4 separate regions of the Homo sapiens genome follow, and all the other regions are linked to region 2. Evidence: promoter capture Hi-C in human tissues and cell types (Jung and others, 2019). All regions are on one chromosome and are shown on one strand. Each heading gives the region's core, a stretch centred on a gene start or on the middle of the fragment in contact. The rest is flanking DNA. Distances are from core to core; before and after follow the strand shown. Region 1 overlaps PCNT (pericentrin). Region 2 holds the start of FTCD (formimidoyltransferase cyclodeaminase). Region 3 overlaps PCNT (pericentrin). Region 4 holds the start of DIP2A (disco interacting protein 2 homolog A).

Region 1 (4,407 bases), core at 1,051-3,550, 260 kb before region 2:
CCTCAAAAGGTGACTGACTTGTAAAAAGACAACAATTATAGAAAAAGTTATGAAATGAAAAAAAGGACGGTGTGGCAGGTAACCGCCACAACAACTGATGCGGGCCAGGGCAACCAAGGGAGGCTGAGACCAGTGGGCGTGAGCATGAGAGGGAAGAGAATACTCAGTCTCCGCATCTCCCACAGAAGGAGGTGGAGGAAACCTGGCAGGCACCATCACAGACAAAGGCCCAAGTCAAGCCCACGCACCTCCCGCCACGAGGTCCGGGGAGACGCAGCCCCCCACGCACCATCGCGAGGACACGCCACAGTCAGCGGCCCCTCGGCTCCTCTCCAGGGCCGGTGCCCCGAAACCCACAGCAGAGAGAGGGACGTCCACCCCAAGGGGAGGGAAAGGCAGGGTGGGCAGGCAAGGCAGCAGAGCCTGGAAACATGGCGTGCACCGCCCCAGTCTCCATCCTGCCAAAGACACCTGAACACAGCCTGTGAGCTGGGGTGTCTTTTCCATAAAGGACACTACTGGGACAATGGGTGAATCTGAGCAAGGTCTGTAGCTGTAGCTGAGATGCCAGCCTTGGATCAGGGTGAACATTCCAGGGTGGAGCGTGGCCCGGGCCAGCAACCTTGGCTCTGTGAAAGGTACAGGCGTGTTTTCAGAAGTCAAGAGGCCCCAGGTGCACGCCCGACAAAGCGCAGAGCCGGGGTGGAGGTCAGCGGGGGGCAGACGCAGAACCAGGCAAAGGATGCAGGAATTCTTTTGACTATTCTGTGCTAGGAAACCACTGAAATAAAAAATTAAAAATGAAAGATAACCAACTCACTTTTCTCACTTCTATCAGCTTTTCCTTCTAATCCAGGAGGAGGTGAACTTAATGTTTCTTGAGAATCAAAGGATGTTGTGATAAAATCTTCGACATCTTTCTCCTGTTAAGAGATTTTTAAATGGTCATAAAATAATGAGTAATTACATCATAGCGCTGACTTTGCCAGGTGAAAACTTTCAAAGGCCTGAATTTATCTTCCCACATAGACCCCAGATGAAACAACTCAAAACTGGTGAACACACAGGTCGAATGCTTCCAACAATTTAATCAGATTCACCCACAGCTCTTTAGGAATATTTTAATGTAGCCAATAGTAAATATTTCAGATTTAAATTGTTTTGCATGAAATGATAGTATATGGATGTTTCAGATAATATGTATCTGCTAAATTATTATTTTTTGAGGGAGGGTCTCACTCTGTCACCCAGGCTGGAGTGCAGTGGTTCAATCTTGGCTCACTGCATCCTCAACCTCCCAAGGTCAAGTGATCCTCCTGCCTCAGCCTCCTGAAGAGCAGGGACCATGGGCGGCACCAGCACGCCCAGCTAATTTTTTGTGTTTTTTTTGTAGAGACAGGGTCTCACCGTGTTACCCAGCCTGGTCTCAAATTCCTGGGCTCAAGCAATCCTCCCGCCTCAGCCTCCCAAAGTGCTGAGACTACAAGCATGAGCCCAACCATACCTGATTTTTAATTTTATCTTACTCAAGATACACAAAATCCCAAAATGATTATGTTAGAAATAATACGATCTAACTCATAAATTAAAATTAATTAGCATATGTGAAACCTGTTAAAAATATGAAGCATTTCTGGCTGAGCATGGTGGCTCACGCCTGTAAGCCCAGCACTTTGGGAGGCTGAGGTGGGTGGATCATGAGGTCAGGAGTTCGAGACCAGCCTGACCAATAAGGTAAAACCCCGTCTCTACTAAACTACAAAAATTAGCCGGGTGTGGTGGCGTGTGCCTGTAGTCCCAGCTACTAGGGAGGCTGAGGCAGGAGATTTGCTTGAACCTGGGGAGGCGGAGGCTGCAGTGAGCCGAGATTGCGTCACTGCACTCTAGCCTGGGTGACAGAGCGAGACTCCATCTCACAAAAAAAAAAAAAAAAAAAAAAAAAGGAAGCATTCCTAAAAATAAATCTAAAAAACCATTCTGGACAAAGAACCCTATGCCCATCACACACGAAGACGTGTCTGGGCTATGCCCGTTGGAGTCAGCGTCAGTGGAGAAGCATGCCCAGGGTATGTCTGAGGCAGGCAAATGCATCTCAGGCATTTTAAAAATACCTGAACAACTGAAATAATCTAAATGCGCCCATGATGCCAGTCCTGCAGAGCTGGCCCCACACAGCACTGCGAGGTGTGTGCTGTCAGGAGGTGAACAAACAATGGCAGCTGCCGTGGCGCCGGGCAGACCACATTCCCACGGGAACAGCAGGCCTGGGAGCAGAGCAGGCACCTACCACAGCCGTCCTCTGCACATGGTGGTCGTCAGCCGGCGGAGACTCGGCCCACTGCAGTGCCAGCGCTGCTGCAGACACGCCTGGGGAACAAAGCAGCCCCGGCCCCTGGGTCTGTGGCAGCGAGGTGTCCGCCCTGTCCCCCAGGGATGTGTCGGCACTGCACAGGCTCAGGGCTCCTGAGTGGGGTGTCACGGGGAGGCTGGGCCAGGGCTCCAGGGTCCAGTCCTTCCTGAGGACCTCAGGGGAGCTCCAGGAAGACAGGTCCAGCATCCCGACCGGGCTCTTCCGGGGCCCAGCCTCTGCAGTGTGGCTCTGGTGGCGGGAGCCACCAAGTACGCTGGTCGGTGAAGAAAGAGACATGTCCTGACATTCTGATTTTTCTTGAATGGGAGAATCTGGCATTTCATCTGGTATCAAGGAATCCCAATTTTTGATAACATCAGTTACACCCCCTGGGGTTGTATTGGCATCACACGCGTCTATGGCCTGATTTTTGATAACATCAGTTACACCCCCCGTGGCTGTATTGGCATCACATGTGTCTATGTGGGGTGATATGTCAGGCTCTTCTCCGTCACAGGAATCATCACTCCAGCTGCTCTCCAACAGGTGTGCTGAGGCCATGGGCCACAGAGATTTGGTGTCGGCAGCATCCACATTCTGGAAGGTCATGGAATACAGCAAACGGTTCAGTTTTTCCTGAAGCTGTTTCACCTGAGCTACGAGATCGACCTTCGGCAGCTGACAATCTTCCAGTACTTTTTCTTTACCCTGCAGGTGAAACAGAACAGGTGCACGGTGGAATACCTGGCTCACCAGGAGTCGCACCTGTCTGGTGTTAATGAGTGGATTTCAGGGAGTTTCGGAGCACTCGGGTGATTCCACAATGAGCCCTGCACATTTCAAGTTTATTTAATTCTATGAGAAACAGAACCAAGGCTTACATCTCCTTGCTTAAAAGGCAACTGTCATAACCTATTTCTGCGGTGATTGAGGACACAAGCTTCATACAAGGGAAAAAGGATGGGAAGGTTCTATATCTGAGCACCGAAAACACAAAATTGTGGTTTATGTGATGAATTTGGAGTTTCTGTGTGTGTAACTTCTAAGAATTTGGCAGGCAGGGCTGAGCTTTCTCTTAAGAATTCAAAAAATTGGGCCGGGTGCAGTGGCTCACGCCTGTAATCCTAGCATTTTGGGAGGCTGAGACAGGTGGATCACGAGGTCAGGAGTTCGAGACCACCCTGGCCAAAATGGTGAAACCCTGTCTCTACTAAAAATACAAAAATTAGCCAGGCATGGTGGCGGGTGCCTGTAATCCTAGCTACTCGGGAGGCTGAGGCAGTGAATTGCTTGAACCCAGGAGGTGGAGGTTGCAGTGAGCCAAGATCTCAAGATCTCGCCACTGCACTCCAGCCTGGGCGACAGAGCGAGACTCTGTCTCAAAAAAAAAAAAAAAAAAAAAAAAAAAAAATTCAAAGAAACGTTCCTGTCATGAGGGCCCCAAGACTGTTTGCCGCAGGAGATGCGAAGGGCTCTCCACACAGGATGTATTTCCCGAGAGCACATGACAAGCACACGAACCAGGTTCATGGGTCTCCTCAGAACTGCGGGCCTAGGCCCATCCTTCCCTGATTTCTGTGGAATTAAGAATCTTTCAGGCTCTAAACGCCAATGAGGTGCACGCAGTGTGGACCCAGGAACAGGCGGCACCTGCACTCATGCAAGAAACGTCCCAGCGACGTGCGGGACACTCACGAGGGCTGCGAGGGGCTCGGGTGAGCCCAGGTCTCAGCAGGCTTCAGCACCAAGCATGCTTCCGTGCCACCCTAGAGACCATAAAACACCTGCCCAGCACTTCTGGTGTTAGAGCCTCTGGGTTTCAGAGCCTGGAGGAGTAGTTGGGGCACATTTAGCAAACAGCAGGGAGGAGGGGGAGGAGGAAGAGCAGGGTGGGTGGCTGTGTGTCCAGCAGGAGGAGGGTAGGTGTCTGTGTGTCCAGGAGGAGGAGGAGCAGGGTGGGCGGCTGCATGTCCAGGAGGAGGAGAGTGGGCGGCTGTGTGTCCAGGAGGAGGGTGGGCGGCTGCGTGTCCAGGAGGAGGAGGGTGGGCAGCTGTGTG
Region 2 (4,847 bases), core at 2,230-4,729:
GTCCATATAGTGGGGCCCAAGTTGTCCACTGTGCTGGGCTAGCCTGGGGGGGCCCTGTGGTCAGAAGCTAGACCCCCACCCTGGCAGTGCCACCCCCTAGGCCCCTAAGCTGCAGGTGCACGTGGAACTTTCTGGAGGGCTCCCGTGCAGAGAGGGTGAAGCCCATTCCTGCACTTTTTCTTACTGTACTATTAAAATGAGGAGAAATGGGAACAGGGTGAGGAGGGTGGCCCTGAAGTGGCTGGCGTGGCCATGTCTCCTGGGGCAGCACCCGGGCCCTGGGCACCAGCTCTTCCATCTGTAGACGGGAGGGCAGTGAGCTTCTAGGGGATGATTTCCACCTCCTGGGACGGAGGTGGGCACCGGCCCAAGTGAACTCGGATTCTCCTGCACACAGCTTCCGTATTCAGTCATTTACTTATGGGCCCACTATGTTTGTCTCATACTCTGGGTTAGAAAAGTGTATGGCCTGCCTGGCCCTGGAATCAGTAGCCCTGGGCCTGTCACTGGGGAGAGATGGTGGAAACCCTGGTGTGGGCATAGCTGAGATTCTTTCTCCTGTAAGTGGGGTCCCTTAGGGTCCCCGATTCAGGAGCTATTTACAGCACCTGCCAGCATTTCTAATGTCTCAGTGCTGCCCCTGAGAACCAGCGCCGGCGTCACAACCAGCCCCATTCCCCCTCGTGTTCTCAGCTGTAGCCAAGCCCTGGTCCAGCAGTAGCTGGGTAGGAAATGCATGCAGCTCCTGCCGGGGCCTCCCGCCCCAACCCTCTCTCCTGACAGGCGATTTGCTGGGCTGGAGGACAGGGCCAGGTCTTGGCCTTGGCACCGTCCTGGGTCACGAGTGTATGGTTCTGGTCACTCTGCTGTGGTGCGAGGATGAAGGTGCCAGCCCAGTGTGGGCAACCCTCACAGCCAGAATGTTCCAGTGCCCCGCACCTCGGGACCCTGGATGTGTGCGGCTGCCGTCACAAAGTACCGCAGACCCAGCAGCTTAAACCACAGAAATTTATTCTATCACAGTCCTGAAGGCCCAGAGTACAAGATCAAAGTGTCTGCAGATTCTGTTTGTCTGAGGTCTCTCTGCTTGGCTTGCAGGCGGCCGCCTCCCTGCTTTGTCCTCCTGGCCTTTTCTCTGAGTGCATCCCTGGTGTCTCTCCCTCTTCTCACCGCCCTGTCCATCTCCACATCCAATCCAGTCGGCGGTGCTGGGGGTAATCCAGTCTGCCATGCTGGAGGTCAGGCCTTCAGCAGATGGTTTCTCGAGGGAATGCAGTGCGGCCCTCAACAGACCCCATCCTCCCCTCCTGGCCTCCAGACATGGATCCCTGACTCCATCCTCCCCTTGAGGCTCCACAGAGCTCTGACCCCATCCTCCCCTCCTGGTCTCCCTCCAGACACAGATCCCTGACCCCATCCCCCACTCCCAGCCTCCAGACGTGGAGCCCTGGCTGGGGAACTCTGTGTGCTCCCAGCCTCTGAAGGTTTCTGGGCTTACCTGGCTCCTGTCTCATCCCAGTCCCCCTGAGTAGCCACGGAGGTGGGGTCCCTAAGGCCCACATGGTTGGGGTTCCATTAAGAACTTCAAGTGGGTGGCTCACGCCTGTAATCCCAGCACTTTGGGAGACCGAGGTGGGTGGATCATGAGGTCAAGAGATCGAGACCATCCTGGCCAACATGGTGAAACCCCATCTCTACTAAAAATACAAAAAATTAGCTGGGTGTGGTAGCGGGTGCCTGTAGTCCCAGCTACTCTGGAGGCTGAGGCAGGAGAATGGCGTGAACCCGGGAGGCAGAGCTTGCAGTGAGCCAAGATCGCACCACTGCACTCCAGCCTGGGCGACAGAGCGAGACCCTGTCTCAAAAAAAAAAAAAAAAAAAAAAAAGAACTTCAAGTGGGGCTGGGCTCAGTGGCTCACACTTGTAATTCCAGCACTTTGGGAGGCCGAGGCAGGAGGATCGCTTGAGCCCAGGAGTTTGAGACCAGCCTGGGCAACGTGGTGAGACCTCATGTGTATTTGTCTGATAAAGACATACGCAAGACTGGGTAATTTTTAAAGAAAAAGCAGTTTAATGGACTCAACAGTTCCACAATCATGGTGGAAGGTGAAAGAGGAGCAAAGTCACGTCTTACAAGAGGGTGTGTGCAGGGGAACTGCCCTTTATAAAACCATCGGATCTCGTGAGACCATTCACTATCACAAAAACAGCACCGGAAAAAGCCGCCCCCGTGATTCAGTGACCTCCCACCGGGTCCCTCCCATGACGTGGGAACTATGGGCTCTACAATTCAAGATGAGATTTAGGTGGGGACACAGCCAAACCATATCACCATGTCTACCAAAAATGGAAAAGTTAGCCAGTGTAGTGGTGTGTGCCTGTGGCCCAGATGCTCAGGAGGCTAAGGTGAAAGGACCTCTTGAGCCTGGGGACCAAGGCTGCAGGAAGCCATGATTGTGCCGCTGCACTCCAGCCTGGCTGACAGAGTGAGACTTTGTCTCAAAAAAAAAAAAAAGAGAAAATGATAAAAGCACTGCAAGTGGGCAGCGGCTGAACGTGGAGACAGGAGTTCTCCCTTCTGAGCACGGCCCTGGTGCCGCTGACTTCGTGGGGAGCCTGTAGTCAGGGGAGCAGCAGCTGGGGAGAGCTGGGGTCTCAGCTGCCTTCCCCCATATCGCACATGCCCGTCTCGTGTGTATCTGCACTCTCACACGCGTGTTCCCCTGCCCTGCGCTCACATGTATCTGCACTCACTCTCACATGCTTGCTTCCCCTGCCCCATGCTCACGTGTACCTGCACTCTCACACGTGTGCTCCCCTACCCCACACTCACATGTATCCTCGCTCACTCTCACACGTGTTCCCCTGTCCTGTGCTCACATGTATCCACGCTCTCACACATGTGCTCCCCTGCCTTGTGCTCACGTGTATCTGCACTCTCACGTGTTCCCCTGCCCTGCCCTCACGTGTATCCTCACTCACTCTCACACGCGTGCTCCCCTGCACTCTCCTGTCTGAGCTGAGCTGACCTCAGTTGGGTGCTGCGAGCCAGGGCCTCATGCTGGCCTCTCGCCCTCCACAGCCCCAGGGGTCCAGGCTCCTCCAGGAACAAACGCAGGCCCCACGGGCTGCCTGGAAGGCCTCCCAGAAGGCAGCACAGGGTCACGAGGGTCACCCGCAGTGGCACAGGGAGGCCTCGTCACGACAGGATTCCAGCCAGGCTGGCCTGATGCTCCTGGGGGTCCTCGGCACATGCCCCTTCACCCTGGCATGTGCTTCTTTTCCGGGAACCCACACTCTGGCTGAGTGGAGCCATCCCCTCTGGGTCAACAGCACCCGGGGTGGCTCTGCAGCACCCCACTCCGCGGCTGCACAGGGACCTTGGCCCCACTGCTCCTTGTGCCTTGCTGGTTAATGAGAAGCCGGTGGGGAGGTGCTGCCGGTGAGCGTATAAAGGCCCTGGCGGCGGCTGCGGAGCACTGGCCCTGTCCTTCCATCTGCCCAGAGAGGAGCATCTGGATCAAGGTGCTGGCCATGTCCCAGCTGGTGGAATGCGTCCCCAACTTTTCGGAGGGGAAGAACCAGGAGGTGAGGCCCGAGGAGCTGGTCAAGCATCTAGGGCTGATGGGGCAGCTTGAGTGGCTAAGGCCCAGGCCATGGAGGAGGTGGTGGGCTTGGTGTCCCGGGTCGTCTTCCCAGGATGGGCAGAGCCGCTGCCCGTGGGCCCCAAGGACATCCCGTGGCTCAGGGCCCTGGGGAGTGCCTGACCCAGGGGTGGGTGGAACACGACTGGTGCTTGTGGGGGCTGAGGCTTGGCTGTGGCTTCAGGGGCCTTTCGGGTGCTTTCGGTGGGGGGTTGGGCAGATCTCTGGGCCTCAAAGGGCCTTGGTGCTCCCCCCTGAAAATGGGGCTCCTGCCACTGACTGAAAGGGCTGTGTGAGGCCACACGAGGTGGCCCAGCATGGTCCCCACTGCCGCCTCTCCATCTCCACTGGAGTTAGCTTGCTGAGCCCCCACCCTGCAGCCACCATCCTCACTGGACCCAAAACGAAGTAGGCACAGAGGGGGCAGCAGGCCCCCAGGTCCGGCCTCTCGCCTTCCACAGCCCTGAGGTCCAGGCTCCTCCGGGAACAAACGCAGGCCCTAAGGGCCACCTGGAAGGCCTCCCAGAGCGCAGCACCAGGCCACAGGGGTCACCCGCAGGGGTGCAGGGAGGCCTCGTCATGCCGGGATTCCAGCCAGCACCAAGGCCCTGGGACAGGGCAAGATTTGGGGCTGAGCCCCTGCTCCCAGCAGTCCTGCCACCCGGAAGGTTCTAGGCCCTTCAGGCCCCTCCCCCATGCTGGTGATCTGTCCCTCCCCTGCTCGGGGGTGGGGGTCCCGGCCCCTCTGTGACCTGCGCCTGTGGTCACCTTCTTGGATCCCCGGCCACGTCTCTGGCATCTGTCTGTCGGAGCAGAGCCCGTGAGTCTCTCCTGGAGGCACCACCTGCAGCCCCTTGTGGGGACTGTGCTTGGGCTGGAGTGACTGTGGCTGCTGTGAGGGTTCCCGGGCGGCCGCTGTGTGCGGGCACTTTCGGTGGGAGCTCAGCTTGTCGGAGAGCCCCCAAAGGCTTGGCCCGCCTCCTCAGCCCCCATTTGTGTCTCGGGGTGCAGCCACCTCCAAGCTCCTTTTCCTTCTTTCAAACGGGGAGACTGAGGTGTGGGGGCCGGGCCTGTGTCCCAGGTGATCGACGCCATCTCTGGAGCCATCACACAGACCCCGGGCTGCGTGCTGCTGGATGTGGACGCAGGCCCTTCCACCAACCGCACCGTGTACACCTTCGTGGGGCCGCCGGAGTGCGTGGT
Region 3 (4,314 bases), core at 1,474-3,973, 280 kb before region 2:
GAATAAAAAAAGACCATTTTGCTAAACACTATTAAATAATCAATATATTGAGCATCTCAGTGTTTCCCATCGCCGTACGCCCCTGTGACCTGTGTTCATAGCTAACATGAGCTCTGACCTCCCTACGCCGGGCGCGCCTTCCCTCTGGACGACTGCTCTGACGGAATTCACGGATTTTCTTACCGTGCTTTATTACGTCCCCATCAACACTGAAAAATGACCCAAAGTGAATGAAAAACAAGAGTAGAAAGAAAGGTTTGTGAGTCCAGCGGTCAACAGCAGCTGGAGTCCCACCTGGGCGAGGGGCTTTGCCTTGTGCCAGAGCTCCTTTCCGATCTACTTCTTGCCATTTCTTAACCAAAAAACGTAATCTACAAAAAAAAGAGACAAGACACACTTAAAAGTACGGCAAGACAGGAAGGGAAAGAGCAATGAAAACCCCACTGTGACCAAACAAGCAGAATGGGGGCCTCGCTGCCCATGGGGACCAGGACGCCAAGGTCGGCCAGTCTGTTGACTCGGGCCTGGCATGCCGGGTGCACACATCCAAAGTGCTCGCAGGGCTGCCGGCGGCGGCGACCTTCCCATGCCCAACCACCTGACAAAGCCTCACTGCGGCCCCACCGTGGACCATATGGTCCCCTAGACACCCACCATGGCCCAGCTCAGGACGACTCCAGTTCAAAGTCAGCCGGCCACACCAGTGACTAGGAAACACATGCCGCTCCCGCCTGGTGTGCAGGACCCTCCCATCTTCATCCTGTCACAGATGCCACTGGACAGGCTCAGAACACGGAGACCCCAGCCCTCGCAGGAGTCCGTCAGATGGTGAGCATGCAGAGTGCAGGTGACGAGGGCATGCAGGTCAGTGTGCAGGGCCCCAGACGCCCTGCTAGGATGGCCTTCGGAACAAGCATCATGCCTGTGGCTTCCCTCCTTTGAGGCATAGCAGACACTGCCGATTCCTCCATAAGACCTGTCAAGGCCCCTTGGTGGCAGCTACCCTAGGCAGTGCCCTCACAGGGACACAGAGACTGCTCCTTTCTGGGACACCACTGCCTTCAAAAGATCTCCCCTCCTCGACAGGAGGTAGGATCTGGGTCTGCTTACCTCCCCTATCTAGTGCCTAAAATGCTTCCTCCTGCAGGGTGTTCTCCCCATGAACACAGGATGGACAGATGGGTGGGTGGAAGGATGGACGGTGGAGGCCTACGGTCAGGGGAGCTCAGAGACGAGGAGACAAAGTGCCCCAGGACCAGAGAAGCTGAGAGTACAGCAACCCAGGAGGCCTCGCCTGCACCCCACTTTGGCCCAGCCTGCAGCCGCGATGACTGAACTGGCTCGGCACCTGGTCTCTGAAAGGAGCGGGATTCCTAGCTGCTCTCTGCTGCATCTGCTACTCCAGACAGGCCCGCGCGTGGCCTTGGGAAACACCTCTGTGGCATCAGGGAGCAGGCACAGCCGCACAGTGTTTAGGGGGAAAAACAGTTTTAGAAATTCAGCACGTTCTTTGTGGCACGAAACCCATTAAAAGTCAAGATGTTCCTCTGTAATACAAAGGTGCCCTTAAATCTTTAGTTTTAGAAGGTGAGAGATTCATACACATGACTTCTTGAAGACAAGTTCATCATCTGTATTTTCTCTAAGGCCTCAAATGCCATTCATCTTTAAAAAGAACATATTATGGAGTTTCAAGGAATAAAATGACCAAAAAACCATGCAGTGTGCTGCCCACTCACGGAGACAGACGCGGAACGCACTGACTGAACGTCATGGCATTTACCTTAATATTGCAATGACCACCCTGACGGCCGTGCGGAACCTGGTGAAAGGACGAGATGTGATTTTCCGTTCTGCTTTGGAAGGAAATACCCCCAAATGGGCAATCATGGAGAGTGTTTCTTGTTCAGAATCCTGGAATCCACCAATCAACAGCAAAAGATACTTCTTTTGATAAATCAGAGCTTTTCTAAAGCTCTCTGCTCTCAAGTAATGCAGGTACAATTTTTCCATCTAAAAGAAAAAAAGCAGTAAAATTTTATCATAGGAAACAAAGACTGTCTTGCTGACAAAAGCACATTAACACCATTGCTCTTTCCAAAGAGTCAGATTGTTTTTTCCCATCAAATCATCACAGAGCCATCGGCCTTCCAACAGTATCTGTGGCCAGAAACAACCTTGCTGTTGGAAGATCAATTTGTGTTTGTCAGACAAGATCTAGGACCACAAGCTCCTCTCCACAGCATCATCAAATGAGCCCCTATGAAGCTTCTTGCATTTCACCCCTTAGGTAAGGTCCAAACTGGGCATGAGATGGACGTCACGGGGTGGGGACCGTGTGCCATCAGGAGACTGCAGCAGATCTTGGGCCGAATCCCGGCAAGCCCCTGGGCCAGGCCTCCCTCAGGCTGCAGAGGCCGCCATTTGCTGACTTTGTCAAAGCCTTCCACGTTCCACGCTTAACAAGCACAGAAACTCAGTATTTGTGCACAATTAAAACAAAATTCAAGCCGAAGTTTATTCTGTGAACGTCCTTTCCTTTAGTGATGTGACTGCTACACCCGGCAGACGAGAACCTTGTGGTCACAAAAATGCTTTGCCTGCAATTTGCAAACCCAGGACTTAAAAAAGCACCAAAGTTCTATACTCGTGGCACCGTTCCTACCTTGACATTGCTGGTGTGTGCTTCCTCGCTGGCAGCTGGTGGAAGCCGGCCGGGGTCTGGGCGCCTCAGGGAACTCTGTGGAGCCGTTTCGTCTGGCTTCCAAGCAGACCTTTCCGACCTCTGTAAGGAAGCACAGCCAGCGCTGTCTACAGAGCTGCTCGTCAACAAGAGCATCTTAGAGACGCAGCCGGGGGCAGGTGAGGGAGAAGGCCATGTGCGGGGAGGCCAGGCTGACCACACCACACCTGGCCCCTCCTCAACTTCAGCACCCCCTCAGCAGGGCCTAGGTTACGCCGTGCTGTGATCAGCCAAAGAATTAACATGGAGTAATTACGACATGCCACTTGCTGAAGTATGATTGCAAAAAAGGTACATTTTAACAGAAACAGAAAACCAATTCTTTGTAAAATCACCCCAAATTCAAAGCTTTAAGCCTTAAACACTCTCATATTCTCCGGTCCTAGAAATGCCAACCACTGGTAACTACAAGCACAGTCAACTCTCGACAGCTGTGGGTTCCACATCCATGGATTCAACCAACTGTGGGTGAAAAATATTCAGAAAAAACGATGTGTCTGTACCAAACGTGTGCTTCTTTTCTTGCCCCTACACCCTAAACAATACAGGATGACAACTATTTACGTGGCATTTACACTGAATGAGGTGCTGCAAGTGATCTTAGAGATGACTTAAGAGTGTACGGGAGGACGTGCACAGGTTGCTGCTGACACCACTGCAGGTCAGGAGGCTGAGGCAGGAGGATCCCTGAACCTGGGAGGTCAAGGCTGAAGTGAGCTGTGACTGCTCCACTGCACTCCAGCCTGGGAGATGCAGCAAGGCCCTGTCTCAGAAAAAAAACCCAAAAAGTGAAAAAAGCCAGTTTAGGAGGTCCCAGACGGGCTGGTTCCACTGACACACCTTTCTGGGAGAGAGCCAGGGCCTGTGGCAGGCGGAGATGCCTGCTGCTCTTTTTGGGGGGGCCATCGCTGTGTGCTCTGTGAATGGTGGTTACTTATGAAGGTTACAGGGATGTGTGTGTGTGTGAACTTGTATGACACTACACCAGGAAAGGGCAAATTTTACTGTATGTAAATTTAAAAATAATTTTTAAAAAGTTATAAAAAATAAAGCAAATCACAAACAAAATAGCCTAAATACAAAAGAAAAAAAAATGAGACATTCCGGAAGATAACTCTATCCAACTATACCATTATGAAAATTATAAGTCACTTTAGGCCGGGCACGGTGGCTCATGTCTGTAATCCCAGCACTTTGGGAGGCTGAGGTGGGCGGAATCACGTCAGGATTTTGAGACCAGCCTGGCCAACATGGCAAAACCCCATCTCTACTAAAAATATAAAAATTAGCCATGTGTGGTGGCGGGCACTTGTAATCTCAGCTACTTGGGAGGCTGACACAGGAGAATTGCTTGAACCTGGGAGGTGGAGGTTGCAGTGAGCTGAGATCGCACCACTGCACTCTAGCCTGGGCAACAGAGCAAGACTCGGTCTCAAAAAAAAAAAAAAAAAAAAATTATAAATCACTTTAACTAAAACTCTAAATTAGATCAGATTATAATATTCTTAGTCAAAATACCCTTTTATGAACATGCACCAAACATCAAGTAGCGGTCAGGGTCAGTGAGGACG
Region 4 (4,900 bases), core at 1,049-3,548, 300 kb before region 2:
GTAGCTGGGACTACAGGTGCACACCACCATGCCCAGCTAATTTTTTTTAATACTGTAGAGACAGAGTCTTGCTATGTTACCCAAGCTGTTCTGAACTCCCGTCTCCAAGCCAACGTGGCCTCCCAAAGTGTTGGGATTACAAGCATGAGCCACTGTGTACTCAGCCTGTACTTCCATTTTTAAAAATGTGCCACAAGCCAGGCACGGTGGCTCATGCCTGTAATCCCAGCACTTTGGGAGGCCGAGGCAGGCGGACCACCTGAGGTCAGGAGTTTGAGACCAGCCTGGTCAACATGGTGATACCTTGCCTCTACTAAAAATACGAAAATTAGCTGGGCGTGGTGGCAAGCCCCTGTAATCCCAGCTACTCGGGAGGCTGAGGCAGAAGAATCATTTCTACCTGGGAGGCAGAGGTTGCAGTGAGCCGAGATCACGCCATTGCACTCCAGCCTGGGCAACAGAGCAAGACTCCGTCTCAAAAAAAAAAAATGTGCCACATGTCACAACATTGTTAAAAATCTGAATGCTGAATTCAAAATAGTTGCAAGTACATGTTGTATTATATGTAAAACAAGATCACAACAGCATCTACCTCCCTAAGGTTGGCAAGGATTAAATGACTTACTGTATGCTAGTGCATATTATTTAGATGTTTTGAGAAATAACTACCCCAGACCCAGCAAAATCTTATCAATCTGAAACTTAAATTAAGGATAATAAGATTATTTAAAAAATGGATTCTAAAAGCTGAAAATGCATTTAGATCTCAAAAACAGAGTAAGAATCAATTACATGCTTTTCTTCAAGGACTGCAAGTCCTTTCTGACACTGGAGAAGAACTTAACTCTTTCCCAAAGACAGCCAAAAGGAATATCAGGACACAGGCCTTGAAAGGGATAACATCCAAATGGGAAATGCCACCCACCACCTCTGAAGCCAGATTACTCCAGTCTATTTTTATCAACCAACCATTTATACGACTTTTTTTTTTTACTTTAAAAAATTCCATGAGGGGGCTAACAACTCCTAAGTGTTATGTGCTTTGCATATATTAAGGTATTTTAGCCTCATAACAATCCAAAATGGAAAGTGCTGGTATAACCCCACTTTATAGATAATAAAATGAGGCACAGGGTGCAGCTCCTAGAGTATGAGGCGCGCGGCAAGGGCTCCCAGCTCCAAGGGAAGTAGCTGCCTGCGGACAACGGGCGCAGTCATCCTGGTGAAGCCCAGACCAAGCCCAGACCTACAGCCTTGAGAAAAGCGGGGCTCACAGCTTGGGGCAAAAGTGGTCATTCCTCTCAAGATTCTCACACCTGTCCAAACGACCTAGTCAAAGCCAGTCCTTGGGGTCGGATCCCATTGGGGGAGCAGCTGGGGATAGGGAAAGGTCTCCAGAAGTTTGGCAGGCGTCCCGGGGTGAGGAGTAAGGGTCCCAGGTGTGAAGGGCCTGGGGGGAGGAGTCCTTGTATGGGGGAGGGGTCCTTGTATGAGAGGCGGGGCAGTGGTCCCTGGTTTGAGGGGCCGCGCGGGTGTCCCGGGGCTGAGGGTCGGGAGTCCGGAGGGGCAGCGCGGGGCTCCCAGGGTGAAGGGCGGGGTCCCCGGGGTGAGGGGCCGCGCGGGGTTCCGGGGGTGAGGGGCAGGAGGTCCCGGGGGTGAGGGGCGGGAGTTCCCGGGGGTAAGGGGCCGGGGTCTCGGGGCGAGGGGTCGTGCTGGGGTCCCACATGAGGGGCGGGGTCCTAGGGTTGAGGAACGGTGTCTCCGGGGCGAGGGGCGGGTTCCAGGGTAGAGGAACCGGGGTCCCGTTGAGGGGCAGAGGTCCCAGGGGCGAGGCCGCGTGGGGGTCCCGGGGGTGAAGGGCGGGGGTCCTGGAGTGAGGGGCCGCGCGGGGGTCCCGGAGTGAGGGGCTGCGCGGGGGACCGGGCTGAGGGCGGGTCGCGGGGGTTGAGGGCGGGGTCCGGCTCACCTTCCGACAGCTCCAGCTCCAGCTCAGCCAGGCTCTCCCGCACCTCGGCAGGCAGCGGCGCCGCCTCCAGCGGGCACCCGCGGTCAGCCATGGCCAGGCCGGCTAGCGTCCGGGCAGAGGCTGGAACCGGACCGGGCCTGGCGGCGGCAGCGCAAACCTCGGCTACGTAGCTCCCCTCAGGCCAACAACCTACATCCGCCAGGCGAGGAGCGGGAGGCGGCGGGACAGGGGCGCGGCCAGGACAGCAACGCACCCGCGCGGGCACGAGCGCGGATGGCTCCGCCGCGCCGCCGCTGCCCCGCGCGCTCCTGAGCGCCCGGCCGGCCCTACACGGGAGCGCGTGCGCGGCGGGAAGGGCGGGTAGCGAGCGCGCGTGCGCAGTGGGTCTCGGGCCCGCGCAGCCCTCCCGGCCCCGCCCAGCAACACCAGAGCCTCGCTTCCATTGGCCCCGAAGACGCGTCGATGCCGCTCCGGGCTCCCATTGGGAGAGGCGGGAGAGCGCCGCTCCCGACAGGCTCTGCGCTGGGCCTGCTTGAGGGTGGCGGGCTTGAGGCGGGCAGGCTGCTTAGTTGCGGCCCGAGGCGCCTAAGTGGGGATGACCAACCCGTGGGCGTTGGCGCTGACCCCTAGGCGCCGCTGGTGGCCCCGCGCGCGGCCCTCCGGCCAGCCCCGCCCCTCTCGGGGCTCCTCCTTGGTCCCCGCGCCATGGCGCGTCCGCGTTGACCGCTGTCTTCCCTTTCGGGCTGTGCTGATCGCGAACGCTGCGCAGTCCGTGGTGGCGTCGAGGCACCTTTCTCGTGCCTTTACCTGTGTTCACTCCTTTGCTTTAAAAAACAGCCCTAGAAGTACACATCGTTGGCCCCGAAGGAGCCCCAGCAGCCATGTCGGACCGCGAGGTGACCTTGGAGGGCGGGAGGACGGACGAGGGGCCTGGCGGAGCTAGACTGAGAGGGCGCCGCCGGCGTCCTGAAGGCCCTGCTCCCCGAATGTGTGGGAGTGTGTCTGACGGTGCGAGGGTGGCTGTGGCGGGGCCTGAGCAGCGTGTCCGTGTCCCGATGCCGCCCGCCTGTTACTGAGTTAGGCAGGAGTGCCCGAGTCTGGCGAACTTCAGCAGTTCTCGTTCCAGAGCTCCACACGAGGTTGGCCAAAGCTTTGCGGGACTTACATACCCTTCTTCCTCCGCCCAGTCCTGCTTCCTTCCCCTTCCTTTCACGGGTGTTGATACCATGTCAACATCCTCGTACCCCAAACTCAGTCGCAGCGTCTGCTTCTGGAGAAACCATTCTGCAGCATTAAAGCTGGTGAGAAGATGGGATTCGAGGCTGCATCACTCACCAGTGGTGAAGTAGGAGGGTGAACTAGTGAAATGGAATCCACGAGTGGGTGAAGTATCAGACATTTCATATATGGTGAACGTAGTAGATAAAAGGAAGGAAAGGGGGATTGGATAGCTATTGCTTAGTGCCAACCGAGACTCTTAAGAATAGTGGTCAGCTGAAGGCAAGCAACAAACAGTTGTAAGCCAGTGAATCTGTCCCGTTACATATAGAGAAGCTTCATTTACTGCAGCAGGTCAAAGACAAGAACCAGGCCCAGGAATTAACATCCCTGTTTGACTGAACTCCAAAAATAGCAAAACACCCAAACAAGGCAATACTCTTCCACTAAGTTTGGATCCCTGCTAAGAAAAGATGAGGCTGGGCACAGTGGCTCACACCTGTAATCCCAGCACTTTGGGAGGCCAAGGCGGGAAGATTGCTTGAGTTCAGGAGTTCAAGACCAGCTTGGGCAACATGACAAAACCCCATCTCTACTGAAAACACAAAAAATTAGCCGGGCATGGTGGCCACGGCTGTGGTCCCAGCTGCTTGGGAGGCTAAGGTGGGTGGATCACCTGAGCCCTGGAAGTCAGGGCTGTAGTGAGCTGTGACTGCACTCCAGCCTGGGCAACAGGAGTGAGACTCTGTCTTTTAAAAAAAAAAAAGAAAGAAAAGAAAAGCCCGTCATACATGGGTTGGAGATACCTGGGTAGATGCCTTCAAAGGTTTTGACTCCCCAAACTGCCTTAAACCTTTTTTTCGTAGACAGTGTCTCACTCTGTTGCCCAGGCTGGAGTGCAGTTGCTGGATCATGGCCCACTGTAGCCTCAACTTCCTGGGCTCAAACGATCCTCCCACCTGAGCCTCCTAAGTAACTGGGACTACAGGTATGTGTCACCACACCTGGATACATTTTTTATTACTTGTAGAGGCAAGGTCTTGCTATGTTGCCCGGGCTTGTCTCAAACTTCTAGGCTCCAGTGAGCCATCACACCTGGCCTGCCTTGAACCTGAAGCCTGCCGGGGTGGCTCACCTCTCCTATTAACCTGACACTACTCCTCCTCCCTCCACTTACTGCTCAGTAGATGTATAATTATGGTTGTTTCTTTTGCATTATTCAGCTGGAAACAATGAGATAGAAAAGAGAATATAGCTCCCTCCCCCTCAGAAGAACTGCGTTATTAGTTTGCTGGGGCTTCAGTAACAAACTGGGCAGACATTTATTGTCTCCCAGTTCTGGAGGCTAGAAGTCTGAGATCAAAGTTTTCACAGGGTTGGTTCCTTCTGGGGCTGGGAGGGAGAATCTGTCTCATGCCTCTCTCCCAGCTTCTGGTGGTTTGCTGGCAGTCTTTGGTTCCTTGGCTTATAGAGGCATTGTCCCAGTCCTGCCTTTATATTCACATGGTGATCTTGTTGTGTGTGTCTCTCCAGACGAAGGCATAAGTAACATCATTGACAAAGGTCATTCGACATGGGCCTCTTTTTAGAAGGACACCAGTCATACTGATTAGGGCCCACTCTAATGAGCGCATCTTAACTTGTCTACAAAGACCCATTTCCAAATAATGTCACATTCACATTGACCAGGGGTTAGGGCTTCAGCATCTTTTGAGA

What was found. The method cuts DNA at HindIII sites, captures the fragments that hold promoters and counts their contacts. A contact is called where the count stands out against the background at its distance.
Region 1: a fragment that was not itself captured here is called in contact with the fragment with the promoter of FTCD in region 2 in 1 of the 25 tissues and cell types used here (H1 embryonic stem cells).
Region 3: a contact is called between a fragment that was not itself captured here and the fragment with the promoter of FTCD in region 2, in 2 of the 25 tissues and cell types used here (H1 embryonic stem cells and lymphoblastoid cells).
Region 4: the fragment with the promoter of DIP2A here is called in contact with the fragment with the promoter of FTCD in region 2 in 2 of the 25 tissues and cell types used here (lymphoblastoid cells and mesendoderm cells).

The regions. Positions count from the first base shown.
Region 1 is chr21:46,414,720-46,419,126 of GRCh38, reverse strand. It overlaps PCNT (pericentrin), which reads right to left. Exons shown (of 47, transcript NM_006031.6): 30 at 2,288-3,058; 31 at 821-923. Among named protein-coding and RNA genes, the nearest start is that of DIP2A, 42 kb to the left of the region's middle. The HindIII fragment of the contact is 9,054 bases long and covers 1-4,407 here.
Region 2 is chr21:46,154,211-46,159,057 of GRCh38, reverse strand. It overlaps FTCD (formimidoyltransferase cyclodeaminase), which reads left to right and starts at 3,479. Exons shown (of 14, transcript NM_206965.2): 1 at 3,479-3,588; 2 at 4,726-4,847. The coding sequence starts at 3,535. RefSeq lists enhancers at 3,706-4,409, 4,410-4,847. The HindIII fragment of the contact is 26,017 bases long and covers 1-4,847 here.
Region 3 is chr21:46,438,554-46,442,867 of GRCh38, reverse strand. It overlaps PCNT (pericentrin), which reads right to left. Exons shown (of 47, transcript NM_006031.6): 42 at 2,666-2,785; 43 at 1,784-2,013; 44 at 295-371. Among named protein-coding and RNA genes, the nearest start is that of DIP2A, 18 kb to the left of the region's middle. The HindIII fragment of the contact is 3,958 bases long and covers 745-4,314 here.
Region 4 is chr21:46,456,289-46,461,188 of GRCh38, reverse strand. It overlaps DIP2A (disco interacting protein 2 homolog A), which reads right to left and starts at 2,298. Exons shown (of 38, transcript NM_015151.4): 1 at 1,967-2,298. The coding sequence starts at 2,057. LOC124905046 (a long non-coding RNA gene) reads left to right here and starts at 2,476. Exons shown (of 2, transcript XR_007067915.1): 1 at 2,476-2,862. RefSeq lists enhancers at 1,105-1,174, 2,945-3,084 and silencers at 1,895-1,964, 2,155-2,704. The HindIII fragment of the contact is 5,308 bases long and covers 1-3,318 here.